Regions from separate parts of the Homo sapiens genome. Here region 2 is linked to region 1. Evidence: promoter capture Hi-C in 16 types of primary human blood cells and fetal thymus (Javierre and others, 2016). All regions are on one chromosome and are shown on one strand. Each heading gives the region's core, a stretch centred on a gene start or on the middle of the fragment in contact. The rest is flanking DNA. Distances are from core to core; before and after follow the strand shown. Region 1 holds the start of HYAL2 (hyaluronidase 2). Region 2 overlaps SEMA3F (semaphorin 3F).

Region 1 (4,354 bases), core at 1-2,500:
GGCCCTTTAAGACTCCAGTGCGGAGGTGGGCCCGGGATTGGACTTGCGGACGGGGCGGGAAGGTGTGGTCCACCTTTCTCGGTGCCGGTGCCTCGTTTCGGGCTCGAAGAGCCCCAGGTCCTCTGCAGAGGGACGTGGCCGCCCATTTAGGACCCTAATGCCCCTCTGAGCCGGGCTTTCTATGGGAGTCTCAGCCACGAGCGCCAGTCAGCCTGAAATGTTTCCCCTGCAGCCCGAGGCCGGTGGTTCAGTCCTCCCAGCTCCGCGGCGCCGCCAGCCCTTTAAAGAGACAGTGTGAGGGACAAGGCAGGGGGACGGGAAGGGGGGGGGGGGGAATAGGAGGAGGCGTTGCCCCGTTCGGCCATCAGGAGGTGCTGTGGTACTCCGAGGTTGGCAGGGGGCAGCACCAGATCTGGCTCTGCACCCCCTAACGTAGACGCCAGCCGTGGGTCCCCTTTGTGTGGAAAAAGGGACTTTGACCTGAGGCGACCTCTGGTCTCCTGGAGAGTAGTGCCCCGCCTCCCACGAATCAGGGGCCCCCTTCTCTGGTCCGCCGTCTAAAGGGAGGCCCCGCCCCCTGCCAGACTGAGGGAAGGGGCCAAGCACCGCTTCTTAGCCGGCCCAGGAAGGGCCGAGGCAGTCGTTATCCTGGCAGCCCGGCTCTGGGTCGCGGCGTGGCCGCAGGGTTGGGGTCAGGGAAGCTCAGAGGGGTCTAGGAGGTTGGCCGCCCCTCTCCCTGACTCGCATCAGGGCGGGACAGTCATCCCTGAGATCCCGTCCTTTTCTGCCCAGTCTCTGAGGTCCTTTGGGAGCCCGGCTCCCTCTCAACCCCGAGGAGGCCTCCATTCCTTGCAGCAGTTTCTGGCTGGACCTCCGAGAAAGCCAGCAAGAGGGGTCTCCCAGGGCCTCCATCCCGTATCCAGCGCCCCCTACGCTCCACAGGCCTCTCCCGGTGGGGGGCAGGCTTAGACCCTGGCGAGCCCCGTGCGAAACCACCTCGGCTCTTCCTAGGTCCGCTCCCTTGTGCGAGACTCAACTCCCAAAAGGGCCCGCGTCTGCACCACCAGCCCCTAACCCTCCCGGGCGCCAGGAGAGGGAGGGAGTGCAACTGCGAGCGCATCTGTGGGGGTGCAGACCAGCCGTCTGCTCTGGGCTCACCTGTGTGGGAGTCCGTCGGCCCAGTAGGTCGGTGGCCTCCCTCCTTCCTGGGGTGAGCCTCTCCAGCTAGGCTACTTGCGCCAGCTGCTGCCCGTTGGGCAGCTCGCCGAGGACTTGATAAACCCCATTCCCTCCCATCCGCTCCCGCCTCCCATCCCAGCCCTTTCTCCTCACTTCCTGCTGCCCCCTGAGAGGAAAGGGCCAGGAACAGGCGTGGGGGAGGAGATCGCCTTGACCCTGTTTCCCTCCAGAATGCCCTGCTGGCTGGCTGCCCTCCCCACCCTTCCCGAGTAGGATCTGGCCCCGCCAGCTGCGCCAGGTGACAGGAAGGCTATGGGCTCAGGATCAGGTGCCAATCTCCCCCACACCCACAGCTTCCAACACTAGGGAACCTCTTCACTCCTTCCCTAGGATTGGGGCCCATCCTCAAATCCAGTAGGGTGTGAGAGGATGGGGTCAGGTGGTGGTGCTTTTGGGAGTCAAAATACTTGGGGGTCGTTCAGCTGATGGTCCCCCAGAGCAGGTGCCCAAGAAGGGAACTAGCCTTGGGGGGAGGGTCGGGGGGACTTCCAGTAGCTGAGTCCGTTTTTTTCCACTGAGAGCTTCCGCATCCTGTGTGACAGGACAATGTGTTAGTGAGTGTGACTGTGTGGGTTGGGGAGGAGGGGATGGACTGGGAGGGTTCTGCAGAGTGCTTTCCTGCTGGAGTTCATTCCTGGATGGATTTCAGAGTCCACTATACAGAGTAGGGGGCTCCTTACAACATGGATGAGGAAAGGGGTATACTCCTCTGGGAGGGGTGTTCCTGTGGCTGGCCCTAGGGAGGACTGCAGCAAGGTTCCAGCAGACCTCTCCAGGGGTGCAAATCTACCTACCCTCAAATCACCCAGAGCCAACCCCTCAACAACCCAATGGCCCAATGCCCAGGAGCCTCTCCCCCAACAGAAGGCTGTGTGAGGGGTAGGTGAATACCCAGGAGTCTGGCCCTGAGGACCAAGGAGTCCAAGACATGGTAGGGGAAGGTGCAGTGTCCCTGTACCACTGTGCTGGCTTCACAGGGGCCAGAAGCCTTGAAAGCTCCATGGGTGGGGACCCCCGGGGAAACAAAGGCTAGGCCAGACTGTCCCAGGGCAGGGACACTTCCTCAGGCAGCCAGCAGGAAGGAAGTGAGCACAGCCCGGCGGGAGAGAGTGGGGAAGTGTTGCCTGACCCCCATTGTTTCCAGCGATGGGGTCAGCTGGGTAGGCCCAGCACAGGGAGTTCCCTCAGGCTGGGACAGTGGTGGTAGGAGACAGGATGCTATCTGGCATGGGAGAGCCCTGGGCCTTGAACAGCCAGTAGAGGGGGACCATGGAGGATGACAGGGCCTCATGTTTGGCATCTTATGGGGGTATGGGGAGGCACCCCACAGAACTGCAAGTCCAGGCTGGATATGGTGATCCTGCCCTAGCCTTGACAAGTTCAAACCTCCGAAAGACTGGCAGACCAGCTCCCTACACTCAGAAGCCTGTCCCTGAAATCTCCCCTCTTTAACTGGGAGTTGGACTGATAGTCAAAGCCTAAGCCTAGTAGAGAATCTGCCTTATAGCAGCCCCTGAGAAGTGCAGGCAGAATGACCACAGTGGGCAGGCTGCAGGTGATGAGAAGATGGGGGCAACAGACAGCAGGGGCAATACTAGTGGGCCGAGCCTTGCTTGCTGAAACAGCAGCCTGAGCTCATTCTCCCATGGTGTCCGCAGGCAGGCCTCAGAGGAGGCACATGAGTTTGGGTTGCTGAGCCTGGCAGTAGGCCAAAGGCGTGGGGACACCTATCTGGCTGCTGTCCATTAAAGCTGGGCCTTTGAGGTCCATGGGGGTCAGGCCATGACCCCACTTAGGATCAGCTGGCGATGCTACAGCTAAGACAGATATTCCAGAACTATCTTGGGTCACACTCTCTCACCTTAGATCAGGCAGGTGGGGCCAATCCTTAGTGAAGTATCCCAGGGCCTTCTGATTCCAAGGGTCACCACCACATGGATCACAACAGATAAATGAGTGCCCTCCCACCCTGCAGGGGGCCTGCAGTGAGGTCTGTGTGAACACACAGCCACCTGCTGGCCACAGTTGGGATGGCCACAGGCTGGGCTCAGACTTACTCTTGGGCTTTGCTGGTCATAGGGGGCCTGCCAGAGTCCTGTGCCAGGCCTACCTATTGAACCCAGGTGGTAGTCTAGACACTGGGTGTCAGAGCCCCCACAGGATGCCACTCTCATGTGCAGGATCTACAAATCATTTTATTGAAATTGAACAAATAACACAACAGTCTTCCTAAGCTAGGGGCCATCCTCCCCAAGCCATTTCCCACATTATAGAAGCACAGAGCTTGCACAGTACTTAAAAAAAAAGTCACCTCTATATAGAAATCAGACTCTGCCACGACATCATCATGGACTATTTACAAACCTTCACATTATAAGTATTCCTTTTATGGTTTTTCCCTCCTTTCTTTCCCTACCCAGGGGTTCTAGTGCTTTCCCTTGACTGATCCTGAAGGGGTGGGGGTTACTGTAAGGGAGGGGGTGGTAGGCTACTCATAACTACTGGCACCAGCCTTAGGGTGTTGTCCCTTACCACAAGGTGGTGAACAGTCCCCTCCCAATTGGAGGGGTGGAGGATTTGGTGCAAAGCCATGGAGATTAGACAGAATAGGTGGGTTGGAGTAACTCCCCATAGGCACAAGCATCCGCAGCCTGTCCTGACCCCAGCCTGCACTCTCTCAACTCCTCAACTGGGGGTTCGGGGTTGGGGGGCAACAGTTAGTTGCAGTAGGGGGATCAGCCCAGCCCTGGGTAGAGGGAGAAGCCCCCACCCAGTCCCCACTCCTATCAATAGCCAGCAAACTGTCCATCCATCTGAAGGCGGGAACAAATGGCAGGTAGGTCGGAAGAATCAGGCTGGCACTGCCCCCAGCCTCTGTCCAACACAGGAGGAATCGAGGTAGCAAACGGCTGAAATGCTCTGACTAGGGGTTAAAAGGGAAGTGAAGGAAAGGAAGTTCCTACTTGTATACAGTGCCCACAGCCTAGGGGCTGGAAGAAAGCATACCTTGCTTGTAAAGTGCTGTAGCCTCTAGCAGGGCTAGGCCCCAGGCAAACTTGGAAGAAAGCAGACCAGGCAAGGAACCAGGTAACGGGCATTCCTGACTGGTATATGC
Region 2 (4,092 bases), core at 1,015-3,514, 150 kb before region 1:
GCTGGGGTCTGGCTTCTAGGGTTCCCATCCAGAGCATAGGGGGAAAAGGGGGAACTGGAGGAGCTACCCCAGATCAGCAGTGATAGTCTCCCCTGCCCAGCCCCATGTGGGACCTGGGCTTGAACAAATGGTAAGTGCCCAAGAGTGGGTCTGTGGGAGCCCAAGGCAGGCGTCACTCAGGTGTGTCTCTGCACATACTGGGCCCTGGGTTGGCCTGATCAGGGTGGCGTTGGGGTGTAAGTGGGTGTGCCAAGCAGGAGGAAGGTACGTACAAAGGCATCTGGGCCTCCCTGCCCCCCCGCTTAGCTTGGCTGGGGTTCCCGGGGTTGTAGGTCTGTGGCCATGGGCTGAGGCCTTCCGGCTGGCCGCTCATTAAAAGAGGATTAGGCTGAGAGCCAGGGGGCCAGCCCAGTCCCCAGGCCTTCCTCTGGGGCTCCTCACAGCTTTGGGGGAGTGATAAAAGGGCCGGGGCCACCCCTTCCTGGATCCTGTGGGGGTATCCGGTAGGGACCACCTGGGCCCTGCCATGCCTCTTGCCGCCACTGCTACTATAGCCTTGGCTACCTCAGTTTCCCTCCTCAGAAGGTCAGGAGGTCTGTCTTTCCGGTGGGTGAAACACTGACAAAGACCCAGGCTGGTGCCTCCCCTTGTCCCCCAGTCCCATCTCTCTTCAGCTCAGGGATTAGGGCTGCACTGGCTCACTAGAGGTCAGAGGTCTGAGCTAGGCTGCAGGGATCTGTCTATCATCCCCAGTCCCCATCACTGCTGGGGGAGGTGACGCTGTCAGTCAGGGCCTGCTGCTTTGTGGGGCTATAACCAAGGGGGCGGGCTGCCCACCTCTGCTCCAAGACTCCTCTTTTTGCGGCAGCCCACACCTCACTGCACGCAGACCTGATGTCCTGGAGACCAGCAGCAAGGGGTAGGGGCTGCCCACTTGGGGTCTTCGGGTGAGGGCTGTGGACACGCCTCCTCAGTGCCTGTCCTCACCTGCCCGCACCTTTAAAGTAAGGTATCACCAGCTGCTTCCCAGATATGAGGGACCGGGGGCCCCCAGGACCCAGCCCCGTGTGCCTTGAGAAGGTCCTGCCTCTGGACCTGTGCCAGGCCGCTTTGGGCTGGGACCCCAAGTGCTTGATGGCCATGAGAGAGTCCTGGAGGCCAGGAATGGCTGCGGAAATGAGGTGTCTGATGCCAGAAAAGGCTCTTCCTTCCCGATGATGGGAAAATCCTTCCCGGATGTCACCCCTCCCAACCTGTGCCCAGCCTGGGTGAGAGTATGGGGGTGGGGAGCCCTTCCCAGGAGACAGCACCCAGGCACACCACCCTTCCTCCCCCTAAGGTCAAAGCTTATCTGGGCTGGAGTCCTGATCCCCACAGAACCCTTGATTGTGCCCAGCCCCTCCCTCAACATTGCCATGGCATTCGAGGAGGCATGGCGCTCCTGCTGCCAGAGCCGGGCGTGGGACAAGTGGAGCAGATGTGGGGATTGGCCTTAGGACATGACCAGGCTGGGTCTGCATCAGCCCTGGCCCCCACTGATGCCACCTCAGGTCCCAGGTTCCTTTGTTCCTTCTGTCCCAAGTCCCTGTCCCTTAAGGGAGCTGGGGCCTGGTAGGATCTGGCACCTGCTGATGGCAGGTTTTGGAGGAGGATACCCAGGGCTACTTGCCCACCCCCTGCTCTGACTCAGGCTGCTTGGAGGAGTGAAGGCTCCCAGTTCCTTTGCCTCATGGTGGAGTGGGGAGCAGGGGACAGGACACCCTGTGACCTGGGTTGAGTACCACTCTCCTTTGGGCCTCAGTCTTCCTGTCTGCAGCTGGGGGTGCAGGGCTGTCACAGGGCTCCTTGTTTCCCTTTTCACCTACAGTCTGGCATGAGTGGGGTCAGAAGTCCAGCTGTGGGTTGAGAAGGCTGGAACCTTACACCTTCTTTGCTCTGGGACCCGGGGAAGTTCCCACCCCTCTCCACCTTGGTTCCCCTCTGGTAGGCTGGGTTTGGATGAATGGTTTGGGATTTAGCTCTATTCCTGTGGGTTGGGGATGGGGTAAGGACACACTGGAGTTGGGAAGGCTGGAGCTGAGTCCACAGGTTGCCTCTTCCTGCCTTATAGCCCTCTCTGCTCCCCAATCTAGCACTAGGAAATGGAGTAGCTGGGGTGGGAATGGGGATGGATGCCCTACAAGAGATAGCGACACGTGGAAGCCTGCTTCCTTGGGGAAGGACTTGGGACCTCATTCCACTCTCCTTTCCCTGAAAGGCAGAGACACCCATGAAGGATGGGTTGGGGGAAGACCTGAGGAATGCCAGGCCGTGAGCCTCTCTCTGAGATCAGAACGGGGTCACTGATCCTCAGGGTCACTTTGAATATCAGTACCAGGAGGGCCTGAGAGATGGTCTAGACTAGAGAATGAGGCTCAGAGAGCGAGAGTGCCCCCAACTCAGGTCATGAAGCTCACCCAGAAACTCAAGCCATAGCCAAGGATCCCTGATCCTGGGTCCCACCCCTTCCCCACCATGCGCGACCTCCTGGGGCTCCCCCTCCCCCCACACTGTTTCCACAGTGACCAAAGCGTCACGTCCTGTGACACCAGAGCCATTGACGCCATATCCCGTGGCCACTGGGAGGGGTCCCGCAGGTCCTGAGTCATGTGCCCTGTCCACGGGGAGCGAGTCACCTTCCGGCCCTGGCCCTCCTGGCAGGCAGTCTCTACCACCAGGACTGGCTTCCCCTGGGCCTCCCCCTCCTTCAGCCATGGACCTAGGTGGGAATCCCACCCCCATGCACTCTGGCATGTCACATCCCTTCCCTGTGCCCTGTGCCCTTGGTATTGTGAGCACAGGGCTTTGTGCACAGCGGGTGTTCGATAACTGAGCAAGGGGCTCCCTCCACCCCCACCTCCACCCAGGGGCAGACTGGGGGCAGCAGGCAGAGAGGGTCGAGGCCAATCCTCTGCCCCTAAGCTGGGACTCAGTTTCCTCATCCTCTGAGTGTTCTCTACGGCCTTTCTCACAGAGGGAGCTGGAGTTTGGGAGTGCTGGGGCTTTGCAAGAGGGTAGGGGACTCGGACTTGGGCCTCGGGCTCTGGGAGTCTTGGTGCAGGGTTGATATTATAGAGGCCCAAGGCTGCGCAGGGTTGGAGCTTGGGGATTATGGCTGATTGGGTTCCTGGGGGCTTAATGGCTGAAGCTTCCCCTTACCCGGAGTGCCCGTGTCTGAAGGCGCCCACTTAAGCCTCTAGCCCCTCCCCCTGCCATTGCCCCCAAAGTGCCCCCTAGCCCAGGGGATGGGTAAGGGCATGACCGAGCCATGCCCCCAGCCAGGGTATAAATAACCCCTGGCGGGCTGTCCCAGCCTGGGGGGGCTCCACTGGCAGCCCCACTTCCTCTCTGGCCACTTCCCAGCCCTGGGGGTGGGGGAATGTTTACTTTCCTGTTGTCACTGTGGGTGAGCAGCCAGGCGGGTGAGCGGCCAGGCGGGGGACTCCGAGTGGCCCAACAACAGGTGCGGGACAGGTGCCTGGGCCGCCCTGCCCAGGACTTCAGAGGCGCCGCTGGACAGGCGGGTGAGGCCATCGCCAGGCAGGATCGGCCCTTTGATCCCTCGGCGTCCCTGCGTCCCAGCGGTTGGCCAAGGTCATCACCTGCATTCCCTTGTCACCGCATAGTCAGGGCCAGGCAGGGCAAGACCTTTCCTTACCCACTAGTTTCTCAGAGTGAGGTCCTGGGACCAGACATGGGCTCTGGGTCAGCTGGTGGAACCCCCTGACCCCAGCCCACCTCTGCCCCACCTTCAGGCTGTGTCTAGGGCCTCGGATCCCAGCTGTTCTCCCCCTCCAGGTGCCTTGGGGCCTGGCCCAGGCCTCTCCCTTGACTGCCCCACCTGTGAAATGGGTTACCAGCTGGGGAGGGGAGATGAGACATGTGTGACCCCCTTGGTGAGTGCCTCATGTGTGGTAGGACATGTGTGCGCCATGTGCATGCCTGTGCCACGTGTATACATGCATGCACTCTTCTGTGTGCTGCTATCTTAAGCCCCCTGTGTGTGTGAATATTCATCATCCTCATTACAGTGTTCCCTCTTTTGCTGAGCTA

What was found. Contacts are between HindIII fragments. The CHiCAGO score rates a contact against its expected background, and 5 or more counts as called.
Region 2: a contact is called between a fragment that was not itself captured here and the fragment with the promoter of HYAL2 in region 1, in 1 of 17 cell types (endothelial precursors). The highest score is 6.5, in endothelial precursors.

Annotation. Positions count from the first base shown.
Region 1 is chr3:50,321,495-50,325,848 of GRCh38, forward strand. HYAL2 (hyaluronidase 2) reads right to left here and starts at 1,251. Exons shown (of 4, transcript NM_003773.5): 1 at 1,159-1,251. TUSC2 (tumor suppressor 2, mitochondrial calcium regulator) reads right to left here. Exons shown (of 3, transcript NM_007275.3): 3 at 3,415-4,354. RefSeq lists enhancers at 15-354, 988-1,661, 2,444-2,945 and a silencer at 3,154-3,343. The HindIII fragment of the contact is 6,890 bases long and covers 1-4,354 here.
Region 2 is chr3:50,168,259-50,172,350 of GRCh38, forward strand. The region is part of intron 2 of SEMA3F (semaphorin 3F); the gene reads left to right. Among named protein-coding and RNA genes, the nearest start is that of SEMA3F-AS1, 14 kb to the left of the region's middle. RefSeq lists a silencer at 1,480-1,690 and an enhancer at 2,106-3,079. The HindIII fragment of the contact is 1,841 bases long and covers 1,345-3,185 here.